Regions from separate parts of the Homo sapiens genome. Here all the other regions are linked to region 6. Evidence: promoter capture Hi-C in 16 types of primary human blood cells and fetal thymus (Javierre and others, 2016). All regions are on one chromosome and are shown on one strand. Each heading gives the region's core, a stretch centred on a gene start or on the middle of the fragment in contact. The rest is flanking DNA. Distances are from core to core; before and after follow the strand shown.

Region 1 (4,167 bases), core at 1-2,500, 200 kb after region 6:
TGGGCGTGCCCTGAGACTGTTGGCACGGGGAAGCTGCAAGTGGGCCAGCTAGAAGTGCGGCATGCTATGTGATTGGTTGGGGGTGCCCATTTGGCTTTCTCTGGTTAGTCCAAAGTTGGAGGTAGGGGCAAAAATTATGGGAGCTGTCAGTTTATTAATCGAGTCCTGGCCATTTGGGGTCCATTGCTAAGGGGGTTATTGCTTTGCTTCCTGGATTGGTTACTGCAGATAATATGTTGGCTTCCCAGGCTAGTTGCCACAGATTGTGGGTCAGGGTTCTATTTTGATATCTAGTCTGGCCATCCGCATATTCAGTATCTCAGGACAATACCTCTCTCTCCTTCCTTCACTGGGAAACTTTTTAAAATCTTCTGAAATTTACCTGGTTAAGTGCATAATGTGTGCAGGAACAGTTTCAGCTTTCGGAAAGGGAGGATGTTTTAGAACAAGAGGCACAGAAACAAGGATATATGTGCCAGGCCAGGAAGCATTATTACAGGACACGATATCAGAATAAGCTACCTTCCCCTTCCATAACTTCCAGGGCTGGTGGAAAGGGGAGGTCAATACTGATGGACCCTGCACGTTCTCAGGTGCAAGGACCCACTGGGAGAGTGAAGGTGAGCACATTGGGCTTTGAAGTCATTTTGCTTAACTTTGTTTTCCTTGACAGCAGCTCCGCTTTTAAGTTTTGGATTTGGGGGCTGGTGAGATGGGGAGCTGGATCATCTCTGTTCAAAGAGCTGCAGCTGATGCCCAGACTATGTCACATTCTCACTATAAGGGCAGGAAGCTCCCTAACAGACAACTCAGCACAAGGAACTGAGCAAATGTAAAGCTAAGAGCATACTCAGATATCATCACTCTAACTTCCACCATCTCCCCATGTCACTTTTTATTAATAAAAAATAAGTGAGGAAGCTAGGCATGGAGGCTCACGCCTGTAATCCCAGCGCTTTGGGATCCTGGGATCCTCCCAGCTGAGATAGAAGGATCTCTTCAAGCCAGGAGTTTGAGACCAGCCTGGGCAACATAGTGAGACCCCATCTCTACATAAAAAATAATTTTTTTAAAAAAATCAGCCAAGTATGGTGGCATGTGCCTGTAGTCCTAGCTACTCGAGAGATTGAGGTGGGAGAACTGCTTGAGCCCACGATTTTGAGGTTACAATGGGCTATGATCACACCACTGCACTCCAGGCTGGGAAAGAGAGTGAGACTCCGTCTCAAAGAAAAATTGATGACAAAACAGATTAAGAGAATGTATTAGTTTTTTTATTGCTGCTGTGACAAATCACCACAAATTTAACAACATAAATTTATTAGTGGACAGTTCTGTAGTCAGAAGTCCAGGCAGGCTTGCCTGATTTCTATGCTCAGGAATAGCACAGGGCTGGAAATCAAGGTATTGGTTGCAGAGCTTTTACCTGGAGGCACTGAGAAAAATCTGCTTCCAAGTTCATTCCAATTATTGGCTGAATCCAGTTCCTTACAGCTGTAGGTCTGAGGTTCCTCTTTCCTTGCTGACTGTTAGGCAAGGGCCACTTTCAGTTCCTTGAGGTATTCCTTCTCACGTGGTGCTGCCATCTTCAAGCAGCAATGGCACTTGAGTCTTCCTCATACTTCAAATCTCTCCGAATTCCCCTTCTGTTGTGTAAAGGGCTCTTGTGATTAGATCAGGATCACCCAGATCATCTCTGTATTTTAAGGTTGACTGACTTGAAACTTTAATTACATTTGCAGAATCCCTTCACAGGAGTACCTAGATTTGTGTTTCTCAGGGAGGTTATGATGGTTAATACTGAGTGTCAACTTGATTGGATTGAAAGGATTGATCTTGGGTGTGTCTGTGAGGGTATTGCCAAAAGGGATTAACATTTGAGTCAGTGGGCTGGGAAAGGCAGACCCACTCTTAATCTGGGTGGGCACAGTCTAATCAGCTGCCAGCACTGCTAGAATATAAGCAGGCAGAAAAATGTGAAAAGAAAGATGGGTCTAGCCTCCCACTCTACATCTTTCTCCCGTGCTGGATGCTTCCTGCCCTCAAACATTGGACATCAGATCGGCCTGCAGATGGCCTATTGTGGGACGTTGTGATCGTGTGAGCTAATATTTAATAAACTCATATTATATATATATATATACTATTAGTTCTGTCCCTCTAGAGAAGCCTGACTAATACAGAGGTCATCCCTAGAATTTGTCCTACTACAGAGAGATTGCAATTTACACCATATGAGAATTGTGAATAGAATAAAATGTTTGCACAGATGCTGGGTACTGTGTAATTGTTATTTGGAGGTGGAGAAAGGGGGTGAACATTTCCTGACTGATATGGTTTGGATGTGTGTCCCCTCCAAATCTCAGGTTGAAATGTGATTCCCAGGGTTGAAGATGGGACCTGGTGGGAGGTGTCTGGGTCGTGGGGGCAGATCCCTCATGAATGGTTTTGTGCCCTCCCCGAGGTAATGAGTGGGTTCTCACTCTATTAAGTTCACATGAGAGCTAGTTGTTTAAAAGAGCCTGGCATCTCCTCCCCCTCTCTTTCTCTCTCTGTCGCCATGTGACACACCTGCTTCTGCCATGATTGGTAGTTTCTTGAGTCCTCACCAGAAGCAGATGCTGGTGCCATGGTTGTACAGCCTGCAGAACCATAAGGCAAAATAAACCTCTTTTTAAAATAAATTACCCAGTCTCAGGTATTTCTTAATAGCAATGCAAAATGGATTAACACACTGACTATAGGTTAGTTGTAAAATAGATCCCAAAAGTGTATGATATAGTTTAGATGGCCCCTCCAAATCTCATGTCGAGATGTAATCCTCAGTGTTGGAGGTGGGGCCTGGCGTTTGGGTCATGGGGGTGGATGCCTCACGCCTTGATGCTGACCTTGTGATAGTCAGTGAGTTTTTGTGAATAACTAGGGGACAGCAATCTCAGGGAGGTCATCCTGAGATTCCTCACCACCACACCAACTCTCACTCTTGATTCTACTCTGCCATGTGAGATGCTTGCTCTGGCTTTAAGTAAAAGCTCCCTTAGGCCACCCCAGAAACTGAGCAGATGCCAGCACCTTGCTTGTGCAGCCTGTAGAATCATGAGCCAGTTAAAACTCCTTTCTTGGAAAAACAGACAAACAAACAAACTCCTTTCTTGGCTGGGTGCGTTGGCTCATGCCTGTAATCCCAGTACTTTGGGAGGCCAAAGTGGGCGGATCACCTGAGGTTGGGAGTTCGGGACCAGCCTGACCAACATGGAGAAACCCCATCTCTACTAAAAATATAAAATTAGCCAGGTGTGGTGGCACATGCCTATAGTCCCAGCTACTCAGGAGGCTGAGGCAGGAGAATCACTGGAACCTGGGAGGCGGAGGTTGCAGTGAGTCAAGATCGCGCCATTGCACTCCAGCCTGGACAACAAGAGCGAAATTCTGTCTCAAAAAAAAGAAAAAGCCTCCAAAACTCCTTTCTTTATAAATTAAAGTCTCAGGTATTTCTTTATAGCAATGCAGGTATTTCTTTTCTTTTTTTGAGACAGAGTCTCACTCTGTCCCCCAGGCTGGAGTGCAGCCTGAAACTCGGCTCACGCAACCTCTGCCTCCTGGGTTCAAGCGATTCTTGTGCCTCAGCCACCCGAATAGCTGGGATTACAGGCGCCTGCCCCCACACCTGGCTAATTTTTTGTATTTTCAGTAGAGATGGGGTTTCACCATGTTGGCCAGGCTGGTCTCAAACTCCTGGCCTCAAGTGATCCTCCTGCCTCAGCCTCCCAAAGTGCTGGGAGGTGTAAGCCCCCACGCCTGGCCATGGGTATTTCTTTAAAGCAACTATATTATAACCTAATATGGTATATGAGCTTATTTCTCGTTTGCAGAAGAGTCCAAGGCAGGCATTCTAGTTGATGGATAGCTTTCCCCTACCTAGTAACTCAGGCATACAGGCTCCTTCCATGTTGTAGATCCCCAGTTCCCTAGAACCTGTCACCTGCATCCAAGTGATGTAAGACAAAAGAAAACCTGGAGGAGGCATATCTGTTCCTTAAGCCTTTGCCAAGAATAGGTACTATAACTTAGAACCATATCCCCTTGGTGAGAACTAGTGTGGCCGTGCCTGGCTGCAAAGGGTGCTGGGAAATATAGTCTAGTTGTGTATGAACAAGAAGAAGAAAT
Region 2 (3,978 bases), core at 1,479-3,978, 250 kb before region 6:
TTTAATGTCCTAATCTCTAGAATCTATGAATATGTTACCCTACAGGCCAAATTAATTTTGCAGCTGTGATTAAATGAAGGATTTTGAAATGGAAGATCATCCAAGTGGGTCCAGTGTCATCACAAAGGTCCTCCAGAGTGAGGCAGGAGAGTCAGAGGGAGAGAAGGAAGCAGAGGGAGAGAGAGACATGTAACAACAGAAGCGTGGCAGTGGGGAGAGGAGGGCAGGGAGGGAGAGAGAGGGAGAGACAGATATTGAAGATGGAGGAAGGGGCCACCAGCCAAAGAATGCAGATGGCCTCTAAAAGCTAGAAAGGGCAAGGAAACAGATTGTCCCCTGGAACCCCCAAAAGTAATGCAATCTTGCTGAGACTCTGGTTTTAACCACATAAAATTCAACTTGGACTTCTGACCTCCCGAACTGTAAGAGGATAAATCTGTGTTCTTTAAGCCACAATAAGTTCGTGGTGATTTTGTTTGTGGTAACAAGCAGCAATAGAAAACTAATAAAGTAGAAGTGAAAATTGGATCATCTGCTTTGAAAAGCTGTTTGGTGGCATCTCCAGAAGCTGAACATATGCCTACATCATGACTCACAATTCCACTCCTAGGTATGTACCCAACAGAAATAAGTATATATGGTCACCAAAAGACATCTATTTTAATGTTCATAGCAGCATTATTTGTAATGTCCCAAACCTGAGAATTACCCAAATGTCTATCAGTAGTAAAATGAATAAGCAATTGAGGCACAATCACAAAACGGAATACTATACAGCAAAAAGAATAAACAGACTACAGCCACACACAGTATGCATCTCTTAATCATACTATTAGTGAAAGAGGCCAGTCAACAGAGTGATTCAATCACTATAAAGTACAAAAAGAAACAAAACTACTCTATGCTGTTTGAAGCCACCACTCCCTCCAATGAGAAATCTGAAGAGGGAGTGTTGTGAGGGTACTGGTAATGTTCTGCTTCTTGATCTGGATGATGCTCATTTTGTGCAAAATCATCGGACTTGTGAAATGTGTGTCTTTTTTTTTGAGATGAAGTCTGGCCCTGTGGCCCAGGCTGGAGTGCAGTGGCACTATCTCGGCTCACTGCAGTTGCTGCCTCCTGGGTTCAAGTGATTCTCCTGCCCAAGCCTCCCCAGTAGCTGGGATTACAGGCATAAACCACAACACCTGGCTAATTTTTGTATTTTTGTAGAGATGGGGTTTCATCACGTTGGCCAGGCTGGTCTTGAACTCCTGACCTGGAAGTGATTCACCCTCCTTGGCCTCCCAAAGTGCTGGGATTACAGGCATGAGCCACAGCACTCAGCCAAAATATTTGCCTTTTAATAGGTACACTGCACATTGATGAAATTTTTTTAAGAGAACAGTCGGAGGTGGTAAGGGGGAGGAGCCCCGTGCCTTCATGCAAATTGGCTCAGTCTTCCTGGTAACCTCCAAACAAACAGCTGTAGGCAAAGGGCAGCCCAGATATAGGATTCAAACTCCCTAGAGCCTAACTTTGGGGTAAAGCACCCTGTGCAATTGCTTTGCATATGTTTACTAAATGAGGACCCTTTAGGTCCTCATTTCGGAGAGATCTTTTCTTTAATAAAGGAAGCCTGACCAGAGATAAATCTACTTTTCCCGAGAACTCAAAACTATAAACAAGTTTTGATTGACATTATCTGAATAACAAAAATAGTGATGGCCTTTCTCCACCAGACCCTCCAAGATAAATGAAGAGTTAAAAACTTTGCTTCTGGCCGGGCGTTGTGGCTCACACCTGTAATCCCGGCACTTTGGGAGGCCGAGGTGGGTGGATCACTTGAGGTCAGGAGTTCGAGACCAGCCTGGGCAACATGGTGAAACCCCATCTCTACTAAAAATACAAAAATTGGCCAGGCGTGATGGTGCACACCTGTCATCCCTGCTACTCCAGAGGCTGGCTCATGAGAATCGGTTGAACCCAGGAGGCAGAGGTTGCAGTGAGCCGAGATCACACCACTGCACTCCAGCCTGGGTGACAGAATGAGACTCCGTCTCAAAAAAACCAAAAACTAAAAACGACAGAAAAAGTTGCTTCTGCTTCATTTCCTTTTCATCTCTCAGTAGAGTTTAACATATGAAATGTATTTTTCGAAATTTTGTTAATATGTTTATTCATGTTTTAATAATAGCATAATAACCTTATAAATTCCTAAAGACGTAAATAAGAACGGTTGTTCCCACTAACACCCCAACCTGAAGTGTGGCTCTGGCTTTACCTGAAGTGGGTACAGGGATGCGGAGGGGTGGAAGGACCGGTGGGGACAGATGGACCCATGAACCAGCGGGTGGATGTGAGCTGAGGGGAGGGATACGGACTGGAGGAGCCAAAGCCCGTGACGTAGGGGTGCGTGCTTCCCTCAATGGGGAGACCCTGCTGCCGCTGTTGTTGGCCAAGTCGCCGTGGCCGAAGCGCGGTGGCCGAAGCGGGGGACGGGGGTGGGACTTACGGGGACAGAAGGCGGAGCTTCCAGCAGCTGCTGGCCCCCCTGGGTCCAGAGGAGCCTTGCCGCCCTCACCTGCGCAGAGCCTGGAGCCGACGCGTCACCCCCAGCGGAAGCGCCTCGCTGCCCGGGCGTCTGGCGAGGTGTGCGCTCCGGGTCCCAGCTCCAGCGCTTCGCGGCAGTCGCCCGCCTCTTTCCGCAAGCAGGGCGGGGACTGGGCGGCATCTACCGAGATCTGCGATTCGAGGCGCCGAGGAGCCGAAGACCACAGCTCAGCTCAGACGGCGCCCTAGGGCCGCACAGAGGGTCGGGCAGTGCCGGAGAGAGGTTTGAAAGCGCCGCCGCCAACTCGACAGCGCGTCCCAGGTCAGTGTGAGGCGCCGTCCCTGCCGGCTGCACTTGGGAAACTTTGGCTTGCAGTGGCGGCTGCCGGGAGGAGGACATCGAGGGCGCAGCGTGGAACCCAGCGGCCCGCACGGCCTCAGTGCTCCCTGCCCGGTGCGCGCAAGCCCCTGAAGCCCGCACCTCCCGCTCACCCTGACATTGCAGTGCCCCGAGCAGGATGAGAGACCCAGGGCCAGCCGAGGGCCGCCGGGCTGCAGGGGCCTCCCGAGAGACTCTGCCCCGCCACCCCGGGGCGCGCTCCACGCGAGCTCACCCTCGCGCCTCCTGCCTTTCCCACTGGTTCTCGGTTCCAGTTTTGCGGCCGCTGGGGCTTGGACTCCGCGGGGATGCGGGTTCCGCCTCCTTCTCAGCCTCGCCGAGCGGCGGGAACCGGCGAGGGCTGCCCGGCCGCGGGGTGTCGAGGAGGATGCGGGGCGGGGGGCCTGATGGGCGAAGGTCGGCGCAGCAGCGGGAGCGGCGCGCGCTGGGCCGCAAGAGCGCGCGGGTCGGAGGGGCTGACTTGGGCGCGTCTCCGGAGGGGCTGACTTGGGCGCGTCTCCGCAGGTGCCTCGGCAGCTGGGCAGCAGGAGGTGCCGGCTGGGCGCTGGGGGCGGGCTGGGGACTGCGGAGCCCTTTGCAGCTTCCAGGAGCTCCTGCTTCCAGGAGCCACACAGGGGCGGGCAGCCGGTTCCCGCCCTTCTCAGGTGCGCACAGCCTTGGCACCAGGATACCGGACCCCCTTAGCAGAGAGCCGGGTGCAGAGGTGCGCCTGCTCCGGGATGGGGGCAGTGGCTGCGCCCCTCAGACGCACCATTTCCCAAGGGAGGGCCGCGTCCGGCCGGCGGGCGAGCGGCGCAGGGACCGCTCCGCAGCGGCTGTGGGCAGAACCCGTTTTCATGGATGGTGATCGCCTTAGCCCGCCAGCTGCCTGCCCTGGCTCAGAGATGAGGCGACGAAACGCGCACCCCGCCCCCATCGGTGCCCTGGAGCTGTCGCCCCAGTCACCTTCCTTTGCCCTTCTCCGACAGCGCCTTGAGCTCGCTTCCTCCTGCTCTCAGGAAAAACTGAGGAAACGCGCCTGGTTCCAGGGGTCGGCGGGGACCGTG
Region 3 (3,660 bases), core at 338-2,837, 180 kb after region 6:
GAGGAGAGGAGAAGGGAGCTTTAATGCTTCCCAGTGATGCTTTGGGAACTCCTGGGAATTTTTGGCTTGGAAAGCTTAAGAAAAGATGGAGAAGGCTATAATTAAAAAGGCAGATAATAACAAATGTCGAGGAAGTGGAGAAATTGGAACCCTCTTACATTGCTGGTTTGAATGTGAAATCTGCTTTGGAAAAGAGTTTGGCATCTCCTTAAACAATTAAACATTGAGTTACAATGTAATCCAGCTCTTCCACTACTCCTGAGCGTATACCTAAGACAAAAAGAAAACTAGGTCCACAAAACTTACACAGCGGTGTTCATACAAGCATCATTGGTGATAATCAAAAAGGGGAAACATCCCAAATGACCATCAGCTGGTGACTGCCTAAACAAAATGTGCTCTATCCATACAATAAGATACTATTTAGCAGTAAAAAGGAATGAAGGACTGACACATGCTGCCGCGTGGCTGAGCCTTGGAAATTGTATGCCAGGCAAAAAAGCCACACACAAGAGACCATGTGATTCCTTTTATATCAACTGTCCAGAATAGGCAAATTCATAGAGGCAGAAAGTAGATTGGTGAATGCGGGGGGTGGGCTGAGGGGGCCATGGGGAAGGGGAGAGCACCTAAGGGGTGCATGATTTCTTTTGGGGGTGATGAGAATGTTTGGAAATGGGTAGTGTTGATGGTAGCACAAGTCTGTGTATGAATACATTGAAAGCCGTTGAATTATACATTATAAATGGATGTGAATTAGTGAATTGTATCTCAATATATTCCTGCTTTGACCGCGGCTAGGTGTCTTGTTTCCACAGCTACGAAAGTGCCAACATCGAGAGCTTCTTCAGCGGGAGCTGGTCCATCTTCTGGGTCAAGATGGCCTCCTGCTGGATATGCGTGCTGTTGTACCTGTGTACGCTGGTCGCTCCCCTCTGCTGCCCCACCCGGGAGTTCTCTGTGTGATGATATCGGCGGTCCCCTGGGCTTTGTGGGCCTACAGCCTGGAAAGTGCCATCTTTTGAACAGTGTCCCCGGGGCAGGGACTGGCGCCCTGTGCCTGAGTGGGTCTGAAAAAGCTTTGAGAGAGAAAAAAAAAAATCTCCTGATTAGCTTTTTACTTTTGAAATTCAAAAAGAAACTACCAGTTTGTCCCAAAGGAATTGAAATTTTCAACCAAACTGATCATGGTTGAAATATCTTACCCCTAGGAACTGGATACCAGTTATGTTGACTTCCTTCTGCATGTTTTTGCCAAAACAGAATTTGGGGCACAGCATCTTTTCACAGGGATAAAAATATCTTGTGGGGCCAGTCATTCTCATCCTCGGAATAGAAAAACATGCCAAAATCTTGAGTCCCCAGCGCCTAACAGAATCCAGACCCCTCTCACTCACTTCCGCCTCTTAGAGCCTTGTCCCCAGGGGGCTTTGAGGACAGGACTCAGCCTGCAGGGCCCCTGGTATTTATAGGGTCCAAGAGGAGGCACCTGCTTTTCAACTGCACCCTCAGTGCTGCCTCTTCACGGCCCCTAAACGTTTCCCTTTGAGGTTGTGATGCTGGGAATCACAGACTTCACTCTCTGCCTGCACCCTTCCCCGAGGTCTCATCTTTTCTGGGTCCCACATCTTTGTAATAATGTGAAAAAGCACAATTTGTCTGATCACCCCCCAGGTGGTTCCCCACCTTATTATCACTACCTGATCCGAGTTACTGCAATAAGTACGGCGCTTATTTATGGTGTTATTCACATGATTATAGAACAAGATTCATGTTTTCTCTGCCTAAGCAATGGAGGGCTATCATTCTTACTTGTTTGTGCTGTTGATAATGATAATACTTTTAGGACCTTAACTGAAAAGCTGCTTCGTGTTGAAGCCTGCTGCATGCACTGCTCTTTCAGTTGTTGAGGTCAGCCCCTCAGTTTTTTCTCCACCTTGAGGCCTTTGAAACTGTAAAAGCGGAAGTCGTTTTGTGTTCTGGATCTGTAACGTGACCATACCGTTCAGGTTCATGCTGGCATCCTTGGAGTAGGTTTGCTAATGTGAGAATTTCTGAGGTGAGGATCTCAGACACACTGACCAGAAGAAGCTTGTTAGGCAATGTGTGGAAGTGGCCGAATATACTTAAAAAGAGGTGCGCAGAGGCAGGCGGATCACTTGAGGTCAGGAGTTGCAAGACCAGCCTGGCTAACATGGTGAAACCCTGTCTCTATTAAAAATAGAAAAATTAGCCGGGCATGGTAGCGTGTGCCTGTAATGCCAGCTACTCGAAGGCTGAGGCATGAGAATCACTTGAACCCGGGAGGCGGAGGTTGCAGTGAGCCGAGATCACGCTGCACAGGAATTTCCAAAATACGTACTTGCAAAGTAATACAGAAACGTGACTTTCGGCAGCTACCCAAGATGATGCCTATTTTCAGTGTTGATGTATTCAGGCAGGGAAAAGGTTTACTTGGTGGAAACTCCTGTTAGAATTTCATTCGGGGTGGAAAGAATCTTCTCGAGCTCTCTGTAAGTGAGGATCTAAGAATAAAAGGCTCAGCCTAGTCATTTTTTTCTGTGCCCTACTGTATGAGTTGGGCAGAATTGAGTGCCACCTAAGCTGGGCTTCTGTGTGCCAAAATGCTGGTGGGTGAAATTAGTGAAATTCTTTCTATTCATTCCTTTGCCCTTCTCCCAAGAAAACCCATGGGGAAACAAATTACAGGGGATGAATTCCTTTAGAACTTTCCCTACTTAGAGTGTTTGAGATTCAGTTTCAAAAGGCACTCCATCTGTGTGTGTGGTTTAGAGAGCCTTGTTTTGTAAATTCCATTAAATTTCCTTTTTTAGGGCAGGAGCTCTGTACTCAGCAGTTAAAAGATTCATCTGGAGTCGCAAAATGAAAAGCCGTGTTCTAACCTGAGGAATCAGTTAGGGGACAGGAGTTCCGTGGGCCAGGAATGGGCTCAGGGAGTGGGGCTGCGTGTCACACACAGTAGCTGTGTTGCAGTGGCCTAGGGCCTTGGGGGTTGTCTTTAGGAAACACCCTGAGGGGAAGCAGGTAAAGAGCCTGGGCAGTATTGTGACTAGTTTCATTGTTTTCCTCCTGCTGAGGTCTAGCAGAGCCCTTGCTTTGTCCTCTCGGCTGGGTCTGGCTGCCAGCTGGTGTGATTTGAGAAACTGACCTTACGCGCAGTCAAGGTCCAGCTGACAAGGCCTTGTATTCCTTGGCTGGCCGTGATTGGCCCTTTCCTCTGCAGAAAGCAGCTTAGGGAAGCCCAAGCAAGGGAGTGTGGCCGGTAGAAGGCCCTCGTCGCTTCCTTCTGGAGCCAGCCCAGCCACACAACGTTTTCCAGATGCGTGAGTCTGGTTTGTGACATCCCGTTCCCTTCTGCCGGTTGGTCTGATGCAAGAGGAAGAGTTACAGTTGCTCTGAATTTTATTCTCAGCTGAAAATGTTAGCACGTGTATCTGGATGAACAAAACAGATGTGGATGTATCTGAGGATTGAGGGACTATCAATGCAGAGTTAATGTTAATGGTTATTAATTGTGATATACAATACTCAGGTGAGGAGTCAACATTCCTGGATTTAAAGAATCTACAGTTTTGTGCAATTGTGATTTGAGAAACTGGAAACATTGTGCCAATGGCTTTGAGTTCCTATAACAACGGT
Region 4 (3,573 bases), core at 672-3,171, 220 kb after region 6:
ACATTGGCAGGATAGGAATCAAATAGAATTAAACTCTGTGACAGAAAAATTGTTTGTTGGCTGGGTGTGGTGGCTCACACCTGTAATCCCAACACTTTGGGAGGCTGAGGCGGGTGGATCACCTGAGGTCAGGAGTTGGAGACAAGCCTGGCAACATGGTGAAACCTTGTCTCCACTAAAAATACAAAAATTATCCAGGCGTAGTGGTGCACACCTGTAATCCCAGCTACACGGGAGGCTGAGGCACAAGAATTGCTTGAACCCGGGAGGTGGAGATTGCGCCACTGCACTCCAGCCTGGGTGACAGAGCAAGACTCCATCTCAAAAAAAAAAAAAGACAAAGAGAAATGGTTTGTTTTCTGTACACCTGAACTTGTGGCCTAAGATTGGGACCCACTTCAAGAGATCTTACATTAAATGGAGCTGCAATTAAGGCCTCCTAAATGCTGAGAGCTTCTGTGTCCAGGTTAGCGTTCAAAGGACAGGAGCAAGGGGGAGGAAGGCAGAACAGATAAATAGTTGAAGAGGCTCCCAGACAGGTCTTCCCCCCAATACAGCCAGACCCACGGAAGCTTCCACCAGCCCAGACAGGCTTTGCCCTTGTGCTGTCGTGCAAGAGGAGCTCTGGGGCCTGACTGCTGCTGCGTGGGGGAAGAGCCAGCTGTCTGGGGGCTCTCACAAGTACAGTTCTGCTTCCTCTGGCTTCCCACTGTTGGGACTCAGAAAAGAGTACTCTAAAATGAAAGCCTCAGAAGTTAAAAGTTTTTCTCTGCATACCTGCCCTCCTTTCTCTCAGGCGCGTTCTCCCCTAGTCTAGCCTTAGAAACTAGAATCCCTCTTCCCCATAGAAACCAGAACCTCTTTTCCCCAAAGCCAGCCATAAATCCTAAAAATATTACTCTTATTTTCCCTCTGCCTTTCTGTGTAAAAACTGGCCATAAAGAAATGATCCGACTTACCTTGTTTGACTGTAGGTCATAATTCCCCCATTCCCGAGAGGGTCCTGCCCCACACACAGAAGAAAGGGATGCTGTGCAGAGAGGCCAAGAATCTACACAGGCCTCACTGAATCTCCCAGCTCAGTCTATCAGCATTAGATCATACCCTTTTTTTGTCCAGTCGCATTTGTACATAGCTGTTCATACTTCGTTAATCTTAAGCATCAGTATGGCCAATTTCCGCGTTATCTTTGGGTTTTCATTCTGAAGGATCCTGTGTATAAATGTGAAATAAACGTGTATGACTTTTCTCCAGTCAACCTGCCTTTTGCACAACATGTCTCACCGACAGGGCTGACCTTCCTTAAAGGCATCCCCTGGGCTCCTTGCACCAGATAAGAAGGAGCAGGGGTTCCCATGCTACAGCCAGAGCAAGCCTGTGGACAGCCCCTGAGTGAGGTGTGTGACGTGAAGGAGGGCTGAGATCTAGTGGCGGCTCCCAGCACCCTGGTGACTTGGGAGGGCTAATGGACCTCCTAGGGTGACCAAGCATGCCAGGGACTCTCTGAGCTAGGTGCTGGGCTGCATGCAGAAAACTCGGGGTGTGTGGCTCAATGGAGGCTCTCACGGCTGTTTGACGACCTACTTTAGATCCTCTTTGGGGTCCAGAAGGCAGTGAGGCATCGGGGTCACTGGAGGCACCGAGAAGCCTCCAGGGAGAGGTACATAAAGTCCTGTGGCATAAGAGTGCGAGCTCCATGGTCAGGGTACTAGGTCCAAATCCTGGCTTGAATCTCTTTATTAGCTGGGTGAAGCTGGGCATGCTTCTTAACCGCTCTGGGCAGTAGTGTCCTGATTTATAATTGGGGTTATTAAGATGATTTTCTTGTTTGCTTTGTTGTAAGGCTTTAATGAGATAACTCATGAGAAACAATTGGCATGTAGGATGTACACATCTCAGCTATGATAATGCACAACAGGCCTAGAGAGGGAGGTTTTGCATTTGACAGGATGCAAAAATCCTATTGAAAGTGCTCTATGAGTATTTAGAGAAGAAGGTGTGGTTACTAGGAGTCAACAGAGGTTCCTGTGCAGTGGACAGTGGTAGCTCTTGGCTGTATATCATCTAACCCTCATTTTCTAGTAGCATCTATTACTTTTCCTTTTGGGGGACCATACTCCTGGGTTGTGGGGGGAGACAGTGCCCTTTCCTTCTAGACCCAAATGGGCCAGATCCTCCCTTTCCTACCTAGCCATGGGTTGGGCACATGCCTTTGGCTTGGCCAGTTACACTCTCTGTCCTGGAGATTGTCTCTGTTGTCTCTTAGCGGACTCCTATTAGGTAGATATTGGGTCTTCTGGATTGGTCATCTTTTCTCCCATTTTCTATCTCTCTATTTATTTTTGTTCAATTTTCTGGATAGTTAGCCTACTTTATCTTCCAGAGTTTCTGTTGAATTTACTACTTCAGTTGTTATAACTCCATCTCCAATAACTCTATCTTTTTTTTTTTTTTTTTTTTTTGAGATGGGAGTCTTGCTCTGTTTCCCAGGCTGGAGTTCAGTGGCACGATCTCAGCTCACTGCAACCTCTGCCTCCCGGGTTCAAGGAATTCTCCTGCCTCAGCCTCCCAGTAGCTGGGATTACAGGTGTGCACCACCACACCCAGCTAATTTTTGTATTTTTTGTAGAGATGGGATTTCACCATGTTGGCCAGGCTGATCTCGAACTCCTGACCTCACGGGATCCGCCCCACTCAGCCTCCCAAAGTGCTGAGATTACAAGTGTGAGCCACCATGCCAGGCCTTCTTTCATGTTTTCTGATTACACCCCATCCTCTTCTGTTTCTCTTTCGTGGATGCATATCTTTTCATATTTCATAGAGGATATTATTTATAGTGTTTTGTTTCATTTTGGTTTGAGGGATCCTCTGATCCTTTATAGTTTCTCTCTCTTTCCTCTGAGCTGCTTTTGTTCTGATTATTTGGTCTCTCACTTTTTAAAGTGAGGCAATAAAAAGCGAATTGAAAGTTCCCTGGGCATCCCCACCCTATCACCCCACAATTGACAATCATCATCATGTTGATTTCCACCTTCCACATTTTTTCCTAAATGTTATTTTAATGCTTTTCATTATTTTATATGTTCCATTAAGCTAATGACCATATTTGCTTATAATTTCCCAGTTGTTTTTTTGGACATTGTTTTTTTTTTTTTCTGGCTCTTAGAGAAAAGTTTGCTATAAATATCTTTCTACATGTGACTTTTATTTCCATCTAAATTATTTTTTTGGAATAAATTTGAGGAGTAGAATTACCGGGTCAAAAGCTTATGGGTGTTTTCATCAGTCTTTCCTGTGTGTTGCCAAATTTCTAATGGTAGTGTATACAGGTACCATAGCAGCAGCAACAGGAGTACAACCCTCCCAGCACTCTTTTTTTGGAGACAGGGTCTTGCTCTGTTGCCTGGGCTGGAGTGCAGTGGTGTGATCATAGCTCACTGCAGCTTTGGCCTTCCAGGCTTAAGGCATCCTCCCACCTCAGTCTCCTGAGTAGCTGCGACTACAGGCGCACTACCGTGCCTGGCTAATTTTTTGTAGAAATGGGGTTTCATCTTGTTGCCCAGGCTGGTCCTG
Region 5 (3,714 bases), core at 179-2,678, 170 kb before region 6:
TTTATACAGCCTGTGAGTGAGAATGGTGTAAGTCTTGAGTGTGAGCTTTGTCCCAGATTTGTTTGGATTCTTAGGAAAACTAGGCATTAAAAGGATTTATACTGAGAAGAGCACAAGGGTTAAAAAAGGAAAACTCTGGTCTGAAAAAATGTTCTACGGAGGTTTAGCACAGATCTTAAAAAAGAGAGAGAGAAAAAAGTTCACATCCTTTGATCCAGTAATTTCAGTTACAAGAATCGTGTCCAGGATAAAAACAAACCAAAAACATAACTGAGGAAGAACAATGCAAAAATGTTCATTACAGAATGAATTCTAACAAAACAAAACAAAACAGGAAACGACTGATTAACGTTCAACATTAGGAGACTGGTTAATTACAATATAATTGTATACAATATAATTGTATAAAACACTTCAGTCATTCAAAATTATGTTTATAAAAACCTTGGTGACATGGGATAGTATAAGATGCAGGATTTTAAAAATTATGTTTACCATGACCTTAACTCTATTTTTAAGAGTCAGGGTTGTTAGAAAATACCAAAAAGTTAGTAGTGGTGCCTGTGGGTATCAGCATTTGGGGGATTTTTTTTTCCTATTTCCCTATACTAATATACTTTATAAATGTTCTATAATGGCATTTATCAGGACCTGGACATTTTTCGCTTACACACACATTTTATTCCAAGATTCTGTAAACTGTGCATCGATTCAGAAGAGAACCTGTATTTATACAGCCTGCTAGTCAGAATGGTGAAAGCGTGTATTATTTTTACAATTAGGGAAAAAAATCTAAACTGAAGAAAGAACGCGTCACTGACGTTGTCTCATGCCACTACTTAAGTTTACAGAAAAGATACTGTAACCTTCAAGAGCGGAACTGCTGTCCCGCGAGTTGAAGCACCTGATTCCAAGGGGAATCAAGCGAGCCGCACACTCTGCCAGCTTTCCAGGCAGCGCGCTCAGCAGCGGGACTATGCCGGGCCCGGCCCAGTCCGCATTCCCAAACCTCCCCCAGCTTTCAAAGAGGAACCTACTGACCCAGACCGCCCCCATACGGTCGGCTGAAATTAAGGATTAGGGAAACGTCACATTCCTTTCTTTCCAACCCAGACCTCAAAAGACACTGACCCTGCCATTCTCGACCTCCCCTAACGCCTGTCCCTTAGAGCCCACCCGGCAAACCAAGGTCCTTGCCAGGCGATCGCGGGCGCGCCCCGAGTGCAGAGCGGGCTCCAAGCCCAGCCGCCCGGTTCTGCGCGGCGCGCTCCCAGGTCCCTAGCAAGGAAGACCGCGGGAGCCCGCAAAGGGAGGGTACGGCCGGCGGAGCCTCTCAAAGCGCCCCACCTCCAGGCAGAGGCCGCGCGCTCGGCGCTTACCTGGGCCTCCAGCGGATGCTGCCATGGTGACGACGCCCGCCGTCCGCGCAGGCGCCCAGGCTGGCGCCCCTGCTAACCGGGCACTGGTGGCAGGGAAATTCGACTCCACAAACCACAGGCCTCGGCGGGGGAAGAGCCCGGCGGGCGCCAGCGAAGCGGAACCAAACGGAGCCGCGGCACGCAGGCGCAAAGGCTGGCGTTCGAGGTTCGTTTACGCGCCGCTTCGCCGTGCAGGTGGTGGCGAAGCGCTCCTCCGAAAGGTTTCGGAAGCTGGTGGTAGCTCTGAAGATAACGCTGCGTTAGGGCATACTGCGGCGGAGGATGGAACTCCGATTGAAAGCAGTTGCTGGAGTGGAGCACGAATTTCAACAGTTGGGTATATTTTCTTTTAAATGTTAGTAATATCCTAAAAGGGTGTGGAATCATTACTGATAAAAATCAGTGTTTCTGGCCGGGCACGGTGGCTCAGGCCTGTACTCCCAGCACTTTGGGAGGTCGAGGTGGGCGGATCACTTGAGGTCAGGAATTCGAGACCATCCTGGCCAACATGGTTAAAACCCGTCCTTACTGAAAATTTAAAAAATTATCCTGGCGTGGTGGCGCGCGCCTGTAATCCCAGCTACTCGGGAGGCTGAGGCACAAGAATGGCTTGAACCGGAGAGGTGGAGGTTGCAGAGAGCCGAGATCGCTCCACTGCGCTCCGGTCTGTGCGATAGAGCTAGACTGTCAAATAAATAAATAAATAAATAAATAAGTTTTTGTACAAAGTTACCGAGCTGATAACTTGAAGTTTTCTCTCCCCTTCTGTCTCTCTACCAGTGTTCACTCAGAAAACGCTCTCAGCAACTGGGTCCTCCCATCCACTGTCTTTCTAGCCCTCCTTAACTCATTACTTTTTGAAGCCAAACTAGTGATCAGAATTAACAACAAAGCTCTGCCATTTTCAGCTTCTGTGACCAAAAAACTCAATCTGCCAGTGGTAGAGTTAGGATAACTAACATCACCTGACACGTAATACAAAGGGGAGTTATTCTTGCCCAGCCTTTCAGATAAAATATTTTTCATCACTCCAAAGCAATCACTCTCCATTTACCCCCTTCCTACCCCCAGGCAACAACTCATCTACTTTCTGTCTCATGAATTTGCCTATTCTGGAATTTCATGTAAATAGAATCACAGACTGTATGTATGATCTTTGTAACTGGCTTCTTTCACTTAGCATGTTTTCAAAATTCACCCATGTTTTAGCATGTATCAGTACTTCCTTCCTTCTTATGCTGGAATAAATTCCAGTTTGTAAATACCACATTTTATGTGTGTCCATTCAACAGCTGAAGGACATTCGGGTTGTTTCTACATTTTGTCTTTTATGAATGCTGCTGCTGTGAACATTCATGGACAAGTTTTGTGTGGACGTATATGAATACATTCCTGTGTGCATATCTGTGTACATACCTAGGAGTGGAACTACTTGTTCATATAGTAACTGTTTAACTGTGTGAGGAACTGCCAGTTTTGCAAATCAGCTGTACCATCTTTCATTCCCACCAGCAATGTATGAAGATTCCAATTTCCCCACATCCTTACCAGTCAGTACTTGTTGTTATGTTTTTTAAATTATAGCCATCCTAGTAGATATGAAGTACTACCTCATTATCTTGATTTGTAGTTCCCTACTAATAATATTGAGCATATTTTCAGGTGCTATCGGTCATTTATATATTTCCTTTGGAGAAATGTCTTCTCAAATCCTGTGCTCATTTCAATTGTGAGAATTCTTTATATAGTCTCAATACAAGTCCCTTAACAGGTAATTTGCAAATATTTGCAATATTTTCTCCCGTTGTGCAGATTGTCTTTTCACTTTCTTGATGGCATTGATTGCAGTACAGGTCTTTTTTAAAAAACTTGTTTTTCTTTTTTTTTAGATGAAGTCTCACTCTGTTCCCCCAGGCTGGAGTGCAGTGGCACGATCTCGGCTCACTGCAACCTCCACCTCCCGGGTTCAAGCGATTCTCCTGCCTCAGCCTCCTGAGTAGCTGGGATTACAAGCACGCACCACCACGCCTGGCTAATTTTTGTATTTTTAGTAGAGACAGGATTTCACCATGTTGGCCAGGCTGGTCTCGAACTTCTGACCTCAAGTGATCCACCCGCCTCAGCCTCCCAAAGTGCTGGGATTACAGGCGTGAGCCACTGTGCCCGGCTTTTTTTTTTTTTCATTTTTAAAATTTTTAACTTCAGGGGTCCAAGTGCAGGTTTGTTACACAGGTAAACTGTATCATAGGGGTTTGTTGTACAGGTTGTTTCATCACCCAGGTATTAATCCTAGTAC
Region 6 (4,075 bases), core at 804-3,303:
CTAAAGCATTATGTACTTTTTTTTCACTTAATTTTTTTTTTAGAGATGGGATCTTGCTGTGTTGCTCAGGTTTGTCTCAAACTCCTGGCCTCGAGCGATCCTCCCACCTTGGCCTCCCAAAATGCCACTGCACCTGGCCAAAAACACTATATACTTTTTCCCCCCAGAACTCCCCCTGCCCCCAGGCAATGATTAAATAAAGAAAAAAAAAATTTCCCTTGTATTCTGGTTTTTATTTAGATCTTTACTTAATTGGACCTTTAACTTCTCACTCTAGGCTGTCTATCTAATAATTACAAAAAAAACAAGCAGATTGTAAAGGTGAAAAGTTATGAACTTGATGTAGACACAATGGTCATTAAAGACCAGACTTACATAACTGCTGAAGTAATGAGTAATATAAGTGTCAATCTCCTTATTCTATAGCTCTTTCTTGGTTGAACCAGCAGATCTGCCCAAGGTTTGATGATTGATCATGACTGACAAGTTGGAGGTAACAGATGTAGTTTTTTAAGGATTCACCTTTTCATCTGCTTTTGGTATTTTCTATCTTAGGCTGCTAGCTGACCTCATTTTTCCCCTAAGAGCTTTTCTTGCAACATGAATATTGAACTGGGTATTGCAAGCTTTCTTATTAAGACAAACATCCAGGCTTCTACAGGATCTGTCTTTTTTCCAAAATGTACCCTTCATTGCTTGCTTGTTCTGCTTATACATTTCTACTTTCTTTGCTTCTGATGGCTTCTGATTTTTCTTGTCCTGTTTATAGTTTATCTGAATTGGCTTCTCTTGCAGAGTTCCCTGTTTCTGATGATGGAGTTCCTTGAGAATCTCTACTCTCTGCTGTAAGATTTGGCATTCATTCTCTAGCAAAGCTGCCATCAACTGCAATGAATAGGTGTCATGGCTCAGTTTCTTCACCTGTTCCTCCAGCTCATGCTTAGCCGACACTTCATTATTTGGCTGGGTTTGGAAACCGACTCCATTATTTCCAAGAGTTTCACTTATGTCTTTCTGAGATTTCTGATAGGATTTTATCAGTTTACTGAGCTCAGTATGTTGTTTACTCCAGTGTTCTGCTTCCTGTAGTAACTGCTCCATGTTGTTCCTAATTTTCATAGTTTCTTCTTGAACATTAAGTCTGTTTTTTGCTTTTTCCTGACTTTGTTGAGTTTCGTTAAGGACTTTTTTTTCTTCTAAACGATTTACCAAATCTCTTGCAAAAACTTGTGCGGTGTTCTCAGAGTTCTGGTTTTCCATTATCATCTGCTGTTTCTTTTCATTGTCTTCTTTCTCTGGGGCTAAACTAACAGGCAGGTTTGTTGATAACATTTCATTGATTTTGTCAAGTCCTCTGATATTTTCTTTGTGGGCTGACACATCCTCAGTAATATTGGTTTCCAATATCATCTCCTGTTTCTTTTCATTGTCTTCTTTCTCTGGGGCTAAACTAACAGGCAGGTTTGTTGATAACATTTCATTGATTTTGTCAAGTCCTCTGATATTTTCTTTGTGGGCTGACACATCCTCAGTAATATTGGTTTCCTCAAAAAGTTCTTTTGCTTCTGTGATCTTCTCTTCAAAACCTGCCATATTTTTAAGAATATCTTTAATTTCTTTTAAGAGATTGTTAAACTTCTGTGCAGTCTGTTGTTCTGTAACTTGATGGCTGCTATTCTTTAGGAAAGGGAGAGAGCCCCAGGAGGAAGGGGAATGTGATCCAATTTCGAATAAGGCAATGGTAATCCTAGGGTCCAGATATTCTTGATGAGGATCAGGAGTAGGGTTAACGGTTTTGGAGATGGTGGGCATCTCAGCTGACTTAGCAGAGCTGGCCATCAGGACAGAAGGAAAGCAGAAAACTTTAGAGATTCCAGGAAGGACAGGTGATGGTCCTTTGTGCAAATGTGGGTGGAGACTGTGGAATCAAGCAGAAGTCAGAGACCAAAGTTAAGGATTAAAATTTGGGAGATGATGTTTAGGTGGAAGGTGGCATCTCAGACAGCCTTGTGGGGAGGAAGGGTGGGAAAGGGGACCAAGGCTGGGGCTCCATCTCTTCTCCTCTAGGCACCCGGTGTTTATTCTCTGGCCCTAGCAACCAGGTCTTTATTTTGTCACTGCACCATTGTGGCCTATCCATAGTGTCTGTCTCCTTTGTGTCACAATGGAAGCCTCTTAAATTCCTGCCCAGTGACTCCTGCATCAAAACCAACCTTGAGCTATCCCTACTCCTCATGCCAGAAAGAGCTCTACAATAGCTCTTCCCCTCCTTAATTTCTAGGTTGCTATTCATCTCAGTCTAAATGCACTCAGTTACTTCTCTACGTCACCTCTATCCCCTCACAATCCTGACCTCAACCGCAGCATGTTTTGACCACTTAAGGACATTGCTGAGACCAGTCCTCTCTGGTGAGGTCCCCATCCTTTCATAGCACCTAGAGGCTCTATTGCTCCCATTCTAGGAGAGATGTGACTGTAAGAGAAAGTTATCCACACAAAACAAAACCCTGAGAGTGACAGCCTTTTGTGATTTTAGGAAAGTAATGTCAGGAGTCCCTCCATTCAAAAATATTCTACTGCTCCAAGAAGGGACTATCTGAATGGTTATAATAGCAACACAATTACAAACTGGGACTTTTCTTGGCTTTGAATATAGGCATCCTTTAAGACAGGCTTGGCAAGCTTACTCACAAATCATTTACATCAGGTGATAGAAAACTTTGACTATTACTTTTCACAGTAACTTATTTGGGGATTTTTTTTTTGGCTCTTTTATTGATCCCCTAAGATTTCCACACTCTACACAGTAACTTGTTAAAATGACATAGTTATATTTCTAAAGTGTTTGATTAGAAGGGCATGGTAGTGTGTGCCTGTGGTCCCAGCTACTTGGGAGGCTGAGGCGAGAGGATCACTTGAGCCTGGGAGGTTGAGGCTGCAGTGAGCCATGACTGTGCTACTTAGTGCACTCCAGTTTGGGCAACACAGCAAGATCTATCACAAAAAATTAAAAAATTGGCCAGGTGCAGTGGCTCATGCCTGTAATCCCAGCACTTTGGGAGGCTAAGGCGGGCAGATCACTTGAGGCCAGGAGTTCAGGATCAGCCTGGGCAACATGACAAAACCCCATCTCTACTAAAAATGCAAAAATTAGCTGGGCATGGCAGCACACACCTGTAATCCCAGCTACTCAGAAGGCTGAGGCATGAGACTTGCTTGAACCCAGGAGGAGGAGGTTGCAGTGAGCTGAGATCGTGCCAGTGCACTCCAGCCTGGGTGACAGAACAAGACACTGCCTCAAAAAAAGAAATTAAAAATTAAAAAATAAAAAGCATTTGAAACAGGTAAATTCTCTAGTGGGTTATAGAAAGTAACAAGTTTATTAAACTTCTTGCATTTTAATAAGCTGCTTTCTTGTCTTTTTGTTCTTAGGAGTCAGGTCTTGTGAATATAGAACTCAATCAAAGAAACATTTCTTGTGTATGACTTTTTCCTGGCCTTCAAAATCTTGCTAGCAAGCACTTTAATAGAAATTTGCTTCCAGTCTTAAGGGAAAACTCATACTCAGGTTTTTTTTCCCCTAGAGAAGAGAAATTTATATGTTTTCTTTCTTCTCCAGTTACCAACTCATTTTGGCTCTAATTCCCCAGAGCCTCATGCTCATCTTTCAGCCAGCTGGGCTCCAGGCCATCGTCACTGACTACTCACAGATACAGCAGGGTTGGTCTCTGCTTTTACTTGAAAAAGGAACTCCTTTTCTAATTCACACAATGACAGCATAGATGCTAGCAACTGTCCTTATGCTTTAATTCCATCTTAGAAGTTCAGCATTGGTTCTTATTTCCCCCTTTGACTCAAGCATCATTTAAGACAATTTCTTAATCTCCAGCACAGGGGAATTTTTGATAATTAATTTCTAGCTTTATCATACTATATTCAGAAAATGTCTGTAATGTTTCTACCTTTTGAAATTGATATTTTCTTTCTGGCCTAATAGATTATCAGTGTTCATGTATGTTCCCTAGATATTAAAAAGAAAATGTATTCTCCATCCTCTTGTGCTTGCAGCTTTTTA

What was found. Contacts are between HindIII fragments. The CHiCAGO score rates a contact against its expected background, and 5 or more counts as called.
Region 1: a fragment that was not itself captured here is called in contact with the fragment with the promoter of SPZ1 in region 6 in 1 of 17 cell types (neutrophils); the score reaches 6.9 in neutrophils.
Region 2: the fragment with the promoter of ANKRD34B here is called in contact with the fragment with the promoter of SPZ1 in region 6 in 5 of 17 cell types (erythroblasts, monocytes, naive B cells and 2 more); the score reaches 7.4 in erythroblasts.
Region 3: a fragment that was not itself captured here is called in contact with the fragment with the promoter of SPZ1 in region 6 in 1 of 17 cell types (neutrophils); the score reaches 5.2 in neutrophils.
Region 4: a fragment that was not itself captured here is called in contact with the fragment with the promoter of SPZ1 in region 6 in 11 of 17 cell types (neutrophils, M0 macrophages, M1 macrophages and 8 more); the score reaches 14.3 in neutrophils.
Region 5: the fragment with the promoter of FAM151B here is called in contact with the fragment with the promoter of SPZ1 in region 6 in 4 of 17 cell types (neutrophils, monocytes, M2 macrophages and 1 more); the score reaches 8.9 in neutrophils.

The regions. Positions count from the first base shown.
Region 1 is chr5:80,120,174-80,124,340 of GRCh38, reverse strand. It overlaps a transcript of SERINC5 not described here. Among named protein-coding and RNA genes, the nearest start is that of THBS4-AS1, 39 kb to the right of the region's middle. The HindIII fragment of the contact is 6,557 bases long and covers 1-4,167 here.
Region 2 is chr5:80,569,030-80,573,007 of GRCh38, reverse strand. ANKRD34B (ankyrin repeat domain 34B) reads left to right here and starts at 2,728. Exons shown (of 5, transcript NM_001004441.3): 1 at 2,728-2,854; 2 at 3,901-3,978. The HindIII fragment of the contact is 11,841 bases long and covers 1-3,978 here.
Region 3 is chr5:80,140,969-80,144,628 of GRCh38, reverse strand. SERINC5 (serine incorporator 5) reads left to right here. Exons shown (of 12, transcript NM_001174072.3): 12 at 819-3,660. The coding sequence ends at 966. Among named protein-coding and RNA genes, the nearest start is that of THBS4-AS1, 59 kb to the right of the region's middle. The HindIII fragment of the contact is 1,012 bases long and covers 1,082-2,093 here.
Region 4 is chr5:80,100,604-80,104,176 of GRCh38, reverse strand. No RefSeq gene overlaps it. Among named protein-coding and RNA genes, the nearest start is that of THBS4-AS1, 19 kb to the right of the region's middle. RefSeq lists silencers at 1,844-1,913, 1,924-2,053. The HindIII fragment of the contact is 2,694 bases long and covers 575-3,268 here.
Region 5 is chr5:80,485,814-80,489,527 of GRCh38, reverse strand. It overlaps FAM151B (family with sequence similarity 151 member B), which reads right to left and starts at 1,428. Exons shown (of 6, transcript NM_205548.3): 1 at 1,380-1,428. The coding sequence starts at 1,404. FAM151B-DT (FAM151B divergent transcript) reads left to right here and starts at 1,582. Exons shown (of 3, transcript NR_172938.1): 1 at 1,582-1,750. RefSeq lists a silencer at 864-1,158 and enhancers at 823-1,322, 1,323-1,824. The HindIII fragment of the contact is 15,498 bases long and covers 1-3,714 here.
Region 6 is chr5:80,317,980-80,322,054 of GRCh38, reverse strand. SPZ1 (spermatogenic leucine zipper 1) reads right to left here and starts at 2,053. Exons shown (of 1, transcript NM_032567.4): 1 at 213-2,053. The coding sequence starts at 1,839. The coding sequence ends at 547. The HindIII fragment of the contact is 2,056 bases long and covers 629-2,684 here.